5 separate regions of the Homo sapiens genome follow, and all the other regions are linked to region 3. Evidence: promoter capture Hi-C in 16 types of primary human blood cells and fetal thymus (Javierre and others, 2016). All regions are on one chromosome and are shown on one strand. The core of a region is centred on a gene start or on the middle of the fragment in contact, and the rest is flanking DNA. Distances in the headings are between cores, read along the strand shown.

Region 1 (2,700 bases), core at 201-2,700, 380 kb after region 3:
TGTAGGGTGCAAAAAAAAGGTTAGCAAAAGACAACTTCTACTTAATTGATTCTGGCCAATTGAGATTCTCTCATCTTAAGAGAAAAATGTTCATGAGTATAAATGTTGAAGAATATAGTGGATCTCAATGAATATTACCAGAAATACTACCGAATTATTGATATGGTTTGGGTGTTTTTTGTCCCTTCCAAATCTCATGTTGAAATGTGATCCCAGCTGGGTGTGGTGGCTCACACCTGTAATCCCAGCACTTTGGGAGGCTGAGGCGGGTGGATCACTTGAGGTCAAGAGTTCAAGACCAGCCTGACCAACATGGTGAAACCCTGTCTTTTCTAAATACAAAAAAGTAGCCAGGCATTGTGGTGCATGCCTGTAATCCCAGGTACTTAGGAGGCTGAGGCAGGAGGATCACTGGAACCCAGGAGATGGATGTTGCAGTGAGCCGAGATTGCGCCATTGCACTCCAGCCTGGGCAACAAGAGTGAAACTCTGTCTCAAAAGAAAAAAAAAAAAAAAAAAAAAAGAAATGTGATCCCAAATGTTGAAGGTGGGGCCTGGTGGGAGGTGTTTGGGTCATGAAGATGGATTCCTCATGAGTGGCTCAGTGCAGTCCCCATGGTAATGAATGAGTTCTTGCTCTGTTAGCTCACATGAGAGCTGGTTGTTTAAAGAAGTCTGGAACACACCCCCCTCCACCCACCTTCTTGCTTTCTCTGTCACCATGTGACATGCCTGCTCCCTCTGTGGCATCCACCACAGGTAAAAGCTTCCTGAGACCTCACCAAAAGCCAAATAGATGCTGGTGCCATGTTTGTACAGCCTGCAGAACCATGAGCCAAATAACCTTTTTTTAAAATAAACTACCTTGTCTTAGATATTCCTTTATAGCGACATAAAATGGAGTAATACAGAAAATTGGTACCAGGAGTGGGGTGTTTGTTGCTATAAAGTTACCTGAACATGTGGAAGCATCTTTGGAACTGGGTAATATGCAGAAGTTTAAAGAGTTTGGAGAGCTCAGAAGACAGGAAAATAAGGGAAAGTTTAGAACTTCTTAGAGACTGGTTAAATGAATGTGACCAAAATGTGGATACAAATATGGATAGTGAAGGCCCGGCTAATGAGGACTCAGATGGAAATGAGAAATTTGTTGGGAGCTGGACTAAAAATCACATGTGTTATGCCTTAGCAAAGAGCTTGGCTGCAATGTGTCCATGCCCTAGGCACTTATGAAAGGTTGAACTTAAGAGCAATGATGTAGGTTATCTGGCAAAAGAAATTTCTAAGCAGCAAGGTGTTTAAGAAATGATGTGGCTGTTTTTAATAACCTATGATCGATTTGGGAGAAAAGGAAACACATAAAGTTGGAACTTATAAGGAAAAGCAGAACATAAAAATTTAGATAATCTGCTAATTTAGATAATCTGCATCTGCCATGTGGTAGAAAAGGAAAGAGTGTTTTCAGGAGAGGAATTGAGGTGGGCTGCAAAGCAACCACTTGCTAGAGTAATTTGCATGACTAAAAGGGAGCCAAGTACTTTTCAGAAGGCATTTCAGAAGTTTTCAGGACAGTCCCTTCCATTACAGACTCAAAGGCCTAGGAGAAAAGAATGGTTATGGGAGGCCGGGGTGGGCAGATCACAAGATCAGGAGATCGAGATCATCCTGGTTTGATGAAACCCCATCTCTACTAAAAATACAAAAAATTAGCTGGGCATGGTGGTGGGCGCCTGTAGTCCCAGCTACTCAGGAGGCTGAGGCAGGAGAATGGCGTGAACCCAGGAGGCGGAGCTTGCAGTGAGCCAAGATCGCACCACTGCACTCCAGCCTGGGCGACAGAGCGAGACTCTGTCTCAAAAAAAAAAAACCAACAATGGTTACGGGGATCAGGCTCAGGGCCCCACTTCTCTGTGTCACTCAGGAGAGGCTGCTGCCCACGTCCTGGCTGCTCCAGCCCCAGGTCCAGCATGCCTCAAAGGGCCCTATGCATAGAACTGGCTGCTGCTTTGGAGATCACAAGCCTTAAGCCTTGGCAGTTTCTATGTGGTGGCAAGTCTGCAGGCACACATAATGCAAGAGTAAAAGAGGTTTGGCAGCTTCCCCTTAGATTTTAGAGGATCTCTGGGAAAGCTTGGTTGTCCAGGCAGAAGCCTGCCTCATGGGTAGAGCCCATACAGAAAGCCTCTACTAGGTCAATACAAGGGGAAATGTGTAGTTGGAGCCCCCACAGAGAGTCCTCACTGGGGCACTTCCTAGTGCAGTTGTGGGAAGGAGGTTGCTGTCTGCCAGACCCAAGAGTGGTAGAGCCACCAGCGGCTTGCACCCTAAGCCTGGAAAGCTGCAGGCATTCAATTCCAACCCATGAGAGCAGCCATGGGGGCTGTACCCTACAAAGCCACAGGGGTGGAACTGGCCAAGGCATTGGGAGCCCACTCCTCACACCAGTGTACCCTGGTTGTGGGACATGGAGTCAAGGATTATTCTGGAGCTTTAAAGTTTAATGTCTTTCCTGCTGGGCTTTGGACTTGTGTGGGGCCTATTGTCCCTTTCTTTTGGCCAATTTCCCTTTTGGAATAGGAATGTTTACCCAATGCCTGTACAGCCATTGTATCTTGGAACTCGTTTTTTATTTTAGAGGCTCATAGGTAGAAGAAATTTTCCTTGAGCCTCAGGTGAGACTTTCGACTTTTGATTGAGCTG
Region 2 (2,787 bases), core at 26-2,525, 320 kb after region 3:
TTAATCCTACTTGTAAACTTTACACAAGTAGTTCAAATTGTATTTTAATCAATATATATATTATTCTATGCTTACTCTTCATTAAAAGCCTCCTACCTTTTCATCCAGCTTTACATGTTCTTATAATGTACTCACATTAGTCTGGAATCTGAATACTCAAAATAATTTGTCATCGGCAAAATCTGGAGACTTCAAAATGTGCTCTCTTCTTTAAATAATTTAATATGAAATATTTAAAAATATTTCATAGCTGTGAATTTATATTTCCTCACTATTTTAGAACCAAAAGCAAGTGGACATCACAAGTAGGCAAACAATTTTAAGGTATTACTTTCAGAGTATTAGGAAGAAAGGCAGAGTGTAAAATGCTTGCATATATTTTCTAAGGGTCCAAGGAGAAGATTAAAACTAATAAAATTTTAATATTTAACTTACTTTATGTTTATTAAGGATATCAAAGATGCAACCAGAAGAGTACCACTAAAGTACTACTTATCCTTTCTAGAAAAGGAGACTTTTCTGTCAAATAATAATAGCTATTATTAATCAGCTTGGGTTAACTGGCTCATCCTTATTGCAGGATTATAAAAAAATGCCCACTCTCTTTGTTAATTTTATTAATTTTAAAAATATTAGAAAAATTTTAAAAACTTTTACTAATAGCAAAACACAGAGCTAAAAGCAAACAAGCAAACAGAATAGAATTACTGGAAGCCCATTAAAGGCAAGAAGAAAAAAAGCTTCCATCCAAATCTTTATACCATCTGGCTCCCCATGACACTTAGCTGCCACTGAGAACTACTAACCTCCTCCCTACTGAGCACCTGCTAAACATTACACATCACCTACACGTCCAAAGTTAAAAATTTACGAAAAATAGAGGACTTCAAGTGAAAGCTGATCACACAACACTCTAACAAGTTTAACACAACATCACAAAATGAATTCTCTTCCTCTTTTTTGACTTTTGAAGCGAAGACTAACAATAACTGTAATAATGGGTGTCCTCCGAAACGCCTTTTATATTCAAGACTGATGACTTTTAAATACACACATTTCACCTCAGATTTACGGTAAAGTGTTTATGTAGTAAACATTAATTCCAAATACATTATTAAATGAGTACATTTTAAAATATCTAAATATAAAATACAAAAATAACTTATTTAGACCGTGAAATTCAACGTTTTAAATAACTTATTAAATCTCATTAAAATGACTGCCAACAAAAAAGTCAAAAATTGCAAAAAAAAAAAAAAACCACTTACTTCATTTCCATGTTTTTGTAAGAATTCAATTTCCTGTTGTGTGAATGTTGTCATGGAGATAGATTTCACCCTGTGTGGTGGATTTAATCCTCGCCTAAAAGATAAAATATTTTACAAAATTTACTAGTACATACCACATTTTTAAAATGACACATCTAGTAATTCAAAATATTTCTAACCAACACACAAACTTGAAACAGTGTTTTCATTCCATAAACTCAAAGTATTTTTAAATTATTTTAAACTATTAAACTTAATAATAGATATTAAGGTTTGGTTAGACTCATTAAATAATAGACTTAACAATAAATTCAATTAACCACCTAGTTAAAAACACAAAGTAACTGTGACACATGAGTTTCTAGGAAATGCAAATAGTGCTTTAGTGTGTTTCTGATGAAAAGACTATACATATGAAGAACTCTATGAAAGAATTATTAAAATTCTTTAAATATTTCATATTTCCTAAGAAACAATGATATAATAAGACCAGAGCTATACAAATATCCTTATCAAACAGCTGTTAGCTTTAAATAAGCTTAAGACTAATTTAGAAAACTATATTACAAGTAATATCATGAATTGAGGTAATAAACCAATTAGTAAAGTCCTATCTTGCCATCAATTCAAGTAAGAATTTATAATAAAGAACATTTTCAGTCACCTCAAAAGACAGTGTGTACAAGAGGAAACTGCAGGGACATACGGAAGAGATTCAAAAAAATTGCTGCATGCATGATTTAACAATTTTTAAGGTCCTTTAGAACCCTGAAGCCTTTTCTGTATGGATGGCCTTAAAAGGACTTTACCTTGATGTTTGAACACGCACATGAAAAACCGAGTGGAAATGCACTCAAACAGATTTAATAACTATTTACATGTTGTCCAACTATCTTGTGGGCAGGTCCACCCACAAGAATAATGGCCCAATAATCTATGCAAAATACCAAGTAACCTACGCAAAGTTCCACAGAACTACTTTGGGGTCATGTTCTCTGACAAAGGTCTCATTTGAACTCTAGGTTCTACAGCAATTACTGCAGTAATTTTTTTTTTTTTTTTTGAGACGGAGTCTCGCTCTGTCGCCCAGGCTGGAGTGCAGTGGCGCAGTCTCGGCTCACTGCAAGCTCCACCTCCCGGGTTCACGCCATTCTCCTGCCTCAGTCTCCTGAGTAGCTGGGACTACAGGTACCCGCCACCACGTCCGGCTAATTTTTTGTATTTTTAGTAGAGACAGGGTTTCACCGTGTTAGCCAGGATGTTCTCAATCTCCTGACCTCGTGATCCACCTGCCTCGGCCTCCCAAAGTGCTGGGATTACAGGCGTGAGCGACCACGCCCGGCCAACTGCAGTAATATTTTTAAAGAATTTGTCAGTCAATTTGTAATCATTCACACTAATTAAATAGGATATTTAACAATGATATAAAATAATAAATGTACCAGAAGTTTTTAAAAAATATTTTGGGAACATTTTGAATAATTAAATATGGTGCGTAACATTCTAGAAATTCACGGTA
Region 3 (2,700 bases), core at 51-2,550:
TCATTTCAGTTCACTATAATCATTCAAGAATATGAGCAGCCCCTTCCCTACTGCTTGAAGGAACCCTTATGTAGATAAACTTCCAAAAGCAGAAAATGAATAAATTGGCAGATTTTAATCTATTATCTGGCTACTAAGTATTGAGAAATAGAGCTACAAAGGGAAATATGATTTATAGGAGTGAAAACACTTTGAAATTGTCCTATTAATTAATAGGAATGTTTAATTTTGTTCATAAAAGTTCAACATGTGGTTGGGCATGGTGGCTCATGCCTGTAATCCCAGCACTTTGGGAGGCCAAGGAGGAAGGATTGCTTGCCTCCAGGAGTTCGAGACCAGCCTGGGCAACACAGTGAAACCCTGTCTCTACAAAAAAAAAAAAAATGTAAAAAAATTAGCCAGGTGAGTGGCACACGGCCGTGGTCCCTGTTATTCAAGAGGCTGAGACTGGAGGTTCACTTGACTCCAGGAGGTTGAGGCTGTAGTGAGCTGTAATCATGCCACTGCACTCTGGCCTGGGTGATGAAGTTAGACCCTGCCTCAGAAAAAAAAAAAAATTCAATGTGCATTTTTAGGAATGCACCTGTTGCTAAAAGTGTTGTGTGACTATTGAGCAATAAAGCAATACTTGGACATTCCCGAGTCAGATTACAACATGCTGTAAGGTAAGGGATTAATGTTATTTTAAAGTTGGCAAGCAATGTCCCCCATGCCTTGTGGGGATGTTGATGTCAGGTATTATAATCTACTTCTAAAGGATGAGTTTTGAACTTTACCAAAACTATTAAGTTGGGAGGTACGAAAGTTGGGGACACAGGAGGATTCTCTACATTTCAAAATGGCCCCATCTACTGGTAACATTACACACTTTATATCACTCCCAGAAACATCACTTTGGCTTTATCCTGAAGTTTAGGGATCTCTAAGAGCCCACCACTCCCCAAATCTGCTGAGATTGACAGCAGAGAGGAAAGCCTGATCCGCAGCAGTAACTCTTCTCTCCTCCACTCCACCATGGGCAGACAACTTCCATCACTACCTCTTGTATACTTCCTAACAGTTTTCCATCCCTTAGGGACCCCCAGTTGAGCTCAAGGCTAAAAGGAAAATGAAAATAGTCTTTCTTCTGTGCTAGCGGAAAGAGCGACACTTACCTTCTGATTCGCCGCAGAGGTGGAGTAGCAGCACTGACATCAAAGCAGCCAGGAGCAAACTCTTGGTACAGCACATGGTTTTTAGCTCAAAGAACAGATCTGCTCAGTGTTGAGTACCCAGTTCTTTGGGAGTGCTGTTATATTCTGACAGCAGCCTGGGATGGCCCTATTTATAGCAAATATTGGGAATGTACACAGAAGGCGTGTTGCCACATGGGGTTTTCCCCATTGATCAACTGGCCCCATCATGTCATCATAAAAAAAACCCGCAAGGAAAACTTCCTGCTTTTTCCTCATATTGGGAAGGTGCGAAGGTCAGGGTGGGGGACAGGAAGTTGAGAAGGGGAGAATCCTGTTAAATTCTTTGTATTTGCAAAGAGCAAAAGCAGCTCAGCCCTGTGACCCAGAAAAGACTTTCATCCAGTTTTAACTTAATCATTTTTGTGTCTGAAAATAGAGGATTAACAGCGATACAAAGGTCAGCCCCACACAGGAACATTCCAGAACTCCTATTGTTACACCCTATTTGCTTTCCAGAACCAGTCAAGGAGGAGGGGGAGGAGGAGCAGGTGGGATGCCAGGCATACTCTGCTACACATTTACCATCACATGGTTGAGGTTCAGCTGTCATGAAGAAGACCCTGAGTTGCTAGACTAACATTCAGAGCAGGTACTATAACAGTGCTACAGTACTGTCCGCAGTTAGAGTGGAAAATATCAGCCTTTAAGTAAGGCTCAAACCTCAGCTTCACCTTGATTTAATGTCAACTCTTCTAAGAATCTTATACATTCACATGGCTTTAATCAATATTGCAGTTCAGAAAATAATCCTTACCTACCTTTAACTCTCCATGATGATGTACTAATATAACTCAATATAGAGCCTCAGAATTGTTGAGGAAAGAAAACCTATCAGCAGTAGCTAGTCAGCACAGCAAATGTCAAATAACAGTACTAATGATGATAATGTAATATGAATCCCTAACCTAAGGCAGTATAAGAACTCTCCACTAGACCCAAATAGGTTGAAAGTAAAAGGATCAAAAGAAAGGTATACCAAACAGTAAACAAAAGAGAACTGGAGTTGGTGATGCCTATATCAGACAAAATAGATTTTTTTTTAATGTTACCGGAAATAAAAAGGGACTTTCATGGTAACACAAAATTAACCCATTGGGAAGATGTAAAACCTATAACCATATATATACCTAACAGTAGCACCCCAAACTACAGAAAGCAAAAACTGACAGAATTGAAGGGAAGAATAGGAAATTTTATTTTATTTTATTATTATAATTTCTTTTGAGACAGAATTTTGCTCTTGTTGCCCAGGCTGGAGTGCAGTGGCACCATCTCGGCTCACTACAACCTCCGCCTCCTGGGTTCAAGCGATTCGCCTGCCTCAGCCTCCTGAGTAGCTGGGACTACAGGCACGTGCCACCACGCCCAGCGAATTTTTGTATTTTTAGTAGAGACGTGGTTTCACCATGTTGCCCAGGCTGAACTCCTGACCTCATTACAGGCATGAGCCACCGTGCCCAGCAGA
Region 4 (2,724 bases), core at 99-2,598, 430 kb after region 3:
GGGATACCCTGAGGTAACTCTGGTGGGTGTTTAATTCCCATTTGTATCACATGAATTTCCCCTGGAAGTAGTGAAACTGGTCCCTGCAGTAGATCATTCTTCAAAGAAAAGTTTTTCTTTTTTTTTTTTCTTTTTGAGATAGCATCTCACTCTGTCACCCAGGTTGGAGTGCAGTAGTGTGATTACGGCTCACTGCAACTTCCGCTTCCCAGGCTCAAGCAATCCTCCCACCTCAGCCTCTTGAGTAGCTGGGACCACAGATGTGTGCTACCATGCTTGGCTTATTTTTTGTATTTTTTTGTAGAAACAGGGTCTCACCACATTGCCCAGGCTGGTCTCAAACTCCTGGGCTCAAGTGATTCACCTGTCTGGGCCTCCCAAAGTGCTGGGATTACAGGCGTGAGCCACCGTGCCAAACACAAGTTTTTCTAATACCATTAACACTGTTCTCATTTGAATTAACTAGGTAGTTTTGATTTGTTGTTTAAAATGTTGCATGTCATTCTAGAGTTACAAGCACAAACATGGTTCAGATTCTTATAAAAGGATCTAGATATTCTAGAGAAAGTTTCCTCCGTACCATTTAAATGAGATCATAGTGGTGGCTATGGTGAACTCTCTTGCTCAATAGCCATTTCCATGTCCCTCTAGTATTTGCTTTTTTTCCATATAGCAGAGGCTGAGATGATTAGAAATTACATGGCACAGAATTCTCTGCATCTGGGATCTGGATATTGCAAGAATTAGATCAACCCCTGAGGGGTATAAAAGGCAGAAATGAGGTGAAGGTCATTTTCCTCCACCTTTTATCTGTTGTTGCTGATAAGGAAGATTAGGGTGGAGGAGTTGAGTTTTCTGCACTGCAGCAATGTTCCTGGGTCCAGATAGCGTCATGCAAGTTAATAACCAGTTGCAGAGGCAGCTGTAGTCAGCTGGGCACCCACCACCCCACCCAACCAATTTTTGTATTAGCTGGGCGTGTTGGCAGGTGCCTATAATCCCAGCTACTTGAGAGGCTGAGGCAGGAGAATCACTTCAGCCCAGGAGGCGGAGGTAAATTCAGTGTTGTAGCATTCAATCACTAACCCGGGGTGTGCAGAGTGGTGATGACAACAGCGGCAATGGTTCCTGGACCGCAGCCGTACTGGGGTGTTTGTGAACTTAATCGTTCCAGAGGTGGCTTCTTGATGTCCCCGCCTTTTTTCTTGACAGAGTCTCGCTCTCGTTGCCCAGGCTGGAGTGCAGTGGCGTGATCTTGGCTCACTGCAACCTCCGCCTCCCAGGTTCAAGTGATTCTCCTGCCTCAGACTCCCAAGCAGCTGGGATTACAGGCGTCTGCAATCACACCCGGCCAATTTTTGTATTTTTAATAGAGACGGGGTTTCACCATGTTGGCCAGGCTGGTCTCAAACTCCTAACCTCAGGTGATCCACCCACCTTGGCCTCCCAAAGTGCTGGGATTACAGGCTTGAGCCACAGTGCCCAGCCTTCCCTGCCTTTTTGGCTACTGCAGGGACAGCGGCATCTCCCGGGCCAGTTCAGCAGTCGGGACCTGCGAAGCATTTCTGCAGATAAGTCTAGAGGCTGCTTTTCTAGCCCTTCCAGCAATTTTGTACACATGATTCTCCCATTACATCTCTTCCCAATTCCATAGCTAGAATTTCAGTTTTCTGCAACTAACTGACACTAGTCTATGAAACGCCCTTCTATCTTTTATACCAAATTCTAGCCACGCTCCAAAGCTGTGTGGAATCCTGGCTCCCAGCCCTTCTTGATGGAATCTTCCTTTTTCTGAACTCCAAGGCTTTTGCTGTTTTGGCACGCCATGTGACAAGTTATTTGCATACTTTTCCATCCTTGGTTTTAGCAACTTTTAGTTTTAGCTCTTTTGGTTGCAGAAAAATAGAAACCCACTAAAAACAATATGAAAGGATAATAATATAGAGGCATCTCATAGAAAACAAAGACAGAGTCTGCAGTCAGTTTTCATAGGGTAGAAATTAAGACGTAAAATGCCATTGAGAAACCAAGCAGTCACCCTTTCTCTACCACCCTCTAAAGCTGTGTGGTCTCCTACCTCCTCTTCCTGCATATTTCTCCTCTCTGTCTCTCCTCCTCCTTCTGTTTGTATAGATTGGTTTCTCTGTTTCTCCCAGCAGCGTTCATGATTTCATTGTATTGTATTGTATTTTTATTATTTTTATTTATTTTTCTTTTTCTACAGAAGGGTCTCACTCTGTCGTTCAGGCTGGAGTGCAGTGGCATGATCATAGCTCACTACAACCTCCAACTTCTGGGCTCAAGCAATCCTTCCGCCTCAGCCTCTTGAGTAGGTGGGGATTTAGGTATGTGCCACCATACCTGGCTAAATATTTTTGTGGACATGGGGTCTCCAGGCTGGTCTCAAACTCCTCACCTCAGATGATTCTCTCACCTCAACCTCCCAAATCACTGCCATTACAGGCATAAGCCACCGTGCCTGGCTGTTATTTTTATTTTTTGTAGGGATGGGGTCTTTCTATGTTGCCCTAGCTGGTCTTGAATTCCTGGCCCCAAGCACTCCTCCCACCTCAGCCTCCCAAGTAGCTGGGATTATAGGTGTGAGCCACCAAGCCTGGTTAAGCTCATGAATTTAAATATGGTAGAGACTTCTAGTTGCCTACCCAATACCCTTGGTCTCGTTCTCCCCAGTTTTAACTGGGCACAGATCACTTGGAATAAATA
Region 5 (2,700 bases), core at 145-2,644, 480 kb after region 3:
AAGTGCTGGGATTGCAGGCATGAGCCACCGCACCCAGCCAGTACCTCATTTTTTTATGGCTGAATAAGAGTTACTATATGGCTAGATGATGTTTTGCTTATCCATTCATCAGCTGATGGATATTTTACTTGCTTCCACCTTTTTGCTATTACAGACATTTTTGGATATCATGACTTGGAAGACGGTAATGGCATCTTGTAGATAGAGATCACAAATGTTGCAAACATTCTACAGTGCAAAAAGGTGGCTCTCACCACAACAAGGAATTTTCCAGTCCAAAATGCCAACAGTGCTGAGGTAGAGCACTATTGCTCTACCTCATTCTAGCATCCACTGCAGAATGATACAGAGCAAATGTTCTGGGGATCTCACTTTATCGATTCTGAGTTAACACCTGAATGAATCATCAATGTTATCAGTACTCAGGCCCTTACTGCTTCTCTATTTCAGTCAATTTCTAGAAGCTACTAGAACCCTGGCTCCCTTACCCCTTCCTCCCTTGCTCACTGCAGTTGAGTGCTTCTTGAAGGCTACTGGACCCTTCTATAAGCTTGTATAAACTTGAAGTCCAAACCATCATCTTTGCTTTCAATAAGCAGCTGGTATTAATCTCAGAAACTCGTCTTTCATTTCAGGATCTGGCTCCTGCCACAGGATTTTAAGTCTCTCCTAACAATAACATTTATATATATTGAGCTTTTAACACGAATTAGAACATGCATGATTACATTTAATTCTCATAACAATCTCATGCACTTGGCATTATTCTTATCTTTATTTCAGAGATACGCCCTAGAACTGTTAAATAACTTGCCCAAAGTTATGTGGTTAGTAAATGGCAAAGTAGGTCTTCAAAATTAGTTCTAATTCTCACACAAACTTTTTTACCCCAGTGTTATACACTCTGAACATCTATCACATTTGACTAAATATCACAATTAATGCAGGAATGAACCCCGTAGAGTCTTAAAGCCTGGGTCTACTGAGGGAAATCCCGGCAAACTTTCTTCACTCACTCTTAAAATAATCAATCAGGGAATTGCTTGGGTTGCTTTCAATTAGGAGAAGCAGAAAGACCAACAGAAAAACCCGAAGAATACAATAAGGAGCATTTCTTTCCTGGCAAAATCGTCACTGTAAGACAATTATTTTCACAGGTATAATTCCCAAGGAACTTTGGGGAGTTAGAAAGCTGGGCCTTAAACTGGGAGCACACTGGATACTTTTGTTTTATGTAACCATCTTGGTAACTTTCATTATTTTCTGCTATTAAAGAATTTTGTATCTTCTGCATGCGTTGATGTCTTTCCCTCACTCATATCATTGTCCTGCTGAAACCAGACAGACAGCAAACTTTTTGAATGCAGGAACTATGTCTCATTAATTCCTATACTGCATATAGTATCTCAGAGATAAAAGTTAAAAAATGTTTGTTAAATAATACAATTCTGCAAGTATGTTAGTGCCTTTCTGTCATGTAAAGGCTCAGATTTAGTGCTTTTCACCAAATACCTAGAATATCCAAACTAACTGTGAGCATATTACCTCAATTATGTCAGCAGAAACTTACAATCTAAGAACCTAATCCTAGAAAATTGCATTGCCCTAGACAGTATGGGTGCTTTACCCTCTTTGGAAAGTATTACATGCAAAATGAAACCAGACACAAGCAGTACCATTATTAATAAAAACATATGTTTGCACATTGTCTCATACTAGCTTCATGACAACATGTTAGAAGTTCAAAAGCTATATGAAAAAGATGTAACCCCAGCAATCATCACGGCAAAGCAGCTTCAAAGGTTAGCTGTAAGTCAATGACAAAGGCAGGATTCGAACTCTGTTACTAACACCTTGTTAGTCTACACTGCTACATTTAGGTCAACTGGCACATTAACGTGATGCAGTAGAGTAGCTCAGTAGAAACTTTTAATCAAGTAGCGAGAATGGGTAGTGTCAAGCGAAAAAGGGTTTTCTTTGCCCTGTTTGCTAGACTGATTTTATAACAAAGTGATACATTTACTTCTTATTGCTAAACTTCCCAACATTTTCTTATTATTTAACAAGTAACACCTACCCATAAAGGCTCTTTCTTCAAACCACAGGAACTTAATAATACTTACCACAAAACTTACATTTTTCCTAAAACATAATATTCAAATTTTAAAAATAGCATAATAACTTATTTGGCACATTTGTAAATTAGAATTATTAGTAATGTTCCATATGGAAAGCTTTCATGACATATTGCTAAAGATATGATAAAGCCTCTTTGCTCTTCTCTTTTACCTTTGTCTACATTATTTCAAATTCCGGTGATACTAAAGTTCTACTTACTTCTTCATTTTGAGGGGTTGTAGGAGGTCTTTCTAAATCCAGAAAATCTAGTGGTCTTTCACTCAGCGTAAGTACACGAGGTGGTGTTTTCAGTGCCAGGGGTTTAAAGGGAGTTGACTGAATAAGGTCAAGATCTGCTGGTCTTGAAAATGAAACATCTTCATTATTTCCTAGGAGTTTTCAAGAAAAGAGACAAAGAAGAGAAAAGCGGGAGGTTTTTTAAAAAGACAGTGATTTTTGTTAAAATGTATTTACCTTCTTCTGCTTTTGAATTATACCACCCAATAAGCATTAGTTTCTTTCAAAATATGCTTCCAGGCCGGGCGCGGTGGCTCACGCCTGTAATCCCAGCACTTTGGGAGG

Evidence for each region. The method cuts DNA at HindIII sites, captures the fragments that hold promoters and counts their contacts. A CHiCAGO score of 5 or more calls a contact.
Region 1: a fragment that was not itself captured here is called in contact with the fragment with the promoter of CCL20 in region 3 in 1 of 17 cell types (monocytes); the score reaches 6.2 in monocytes.
Region 2: a fragment that was not itself captured here is called in contact with the fragment with the promoter of CCL20 in region 3 in 2 of 17 cell types (M2 macrophages and monocytes); the score reaches 5.2 in M2 macrophages.
Region 4: a fragment that was not itself captured here is called in contact with the fragment with the promoter of CCL20 in region 3 in 2 of 17 cell types (monocytes and M0 macrophages); the score reaches 9.3 in monocytes.
Region 5: a contact is called between a fragment that was not itself captured here and the fragment with the promoter of CCL20 in region 3, in 6 of 17 cell types (monocytes, M2 macrophages, activated CD4 T cells and 3 more). The highest score is 10.9, in monocytes.

The regions. Positions count from the first base shown.
Region 1 is chr2:227,431,614-227,434,313 of GRCh38, reverse strand. No RefSeq gene overlaps it. Among named protein-coding and RNA genes, the nearest start is that of MIR5703, 39 kb to the left of the region's middle. The HindIII fragment of the contact is 1,364 bases long and covers 769-2,132 here.
Region 2 is chr2:227,490,122-227,492,908 of GRCh38, reverse strand. AGFG1 (ArfGAP with FG repeats 1) reads right to left here. Exons shown (of 13, transcript NM_004504.5): 2 at 1,269-1,362. Among named protein-coding and RNA genes, the nearest start is that of AGFG1, 19 kb to the right of the region's middle. The HindIII fragment of the contact is 1,066 bases long and covers 743-1,808 here.
Region 3 is chr2:227,812,442-227,815,141 of GRCh38, reverse strand. CCL20 (C-C motif chemokine ligand 20) reads right to left here and starts at 1,300. Exons shown (of 4, transcript NM_004591.3): 1 at 1,155-1,300. The coding sequence starts at 1,230. The HindIII fragment of the contact is 16,817 bases long and covers 1-2,700 here.
Region 4 is chr2:227,382,937-227,385,660 of GRCh38, reverse strand. No RefSeq gene overlaps it. Among named protein-coding and RNA genes, the nearest start is that of SCYGR1, 3.6 kb to the left of the region's middle. The HindIII fragment of the contact is 4,202 bases long and covers 1-2,724 here.
Region 5 is chr2:227,332,226-227,334,925 of GRCh38, reverse strand. It overlaps MFF (mitochondrial fission factor), which reads right to left. Exons shown (of 9, transcript NM_001277062.2): 4 at 2,338-2,507. Among named protein-coding and RNA genes, the nearest start is that of MFF, 8.3 kb to the right of the region's middle. The HindIII fragment of the contact is 1,684 bases long and covers 553-2,236 here.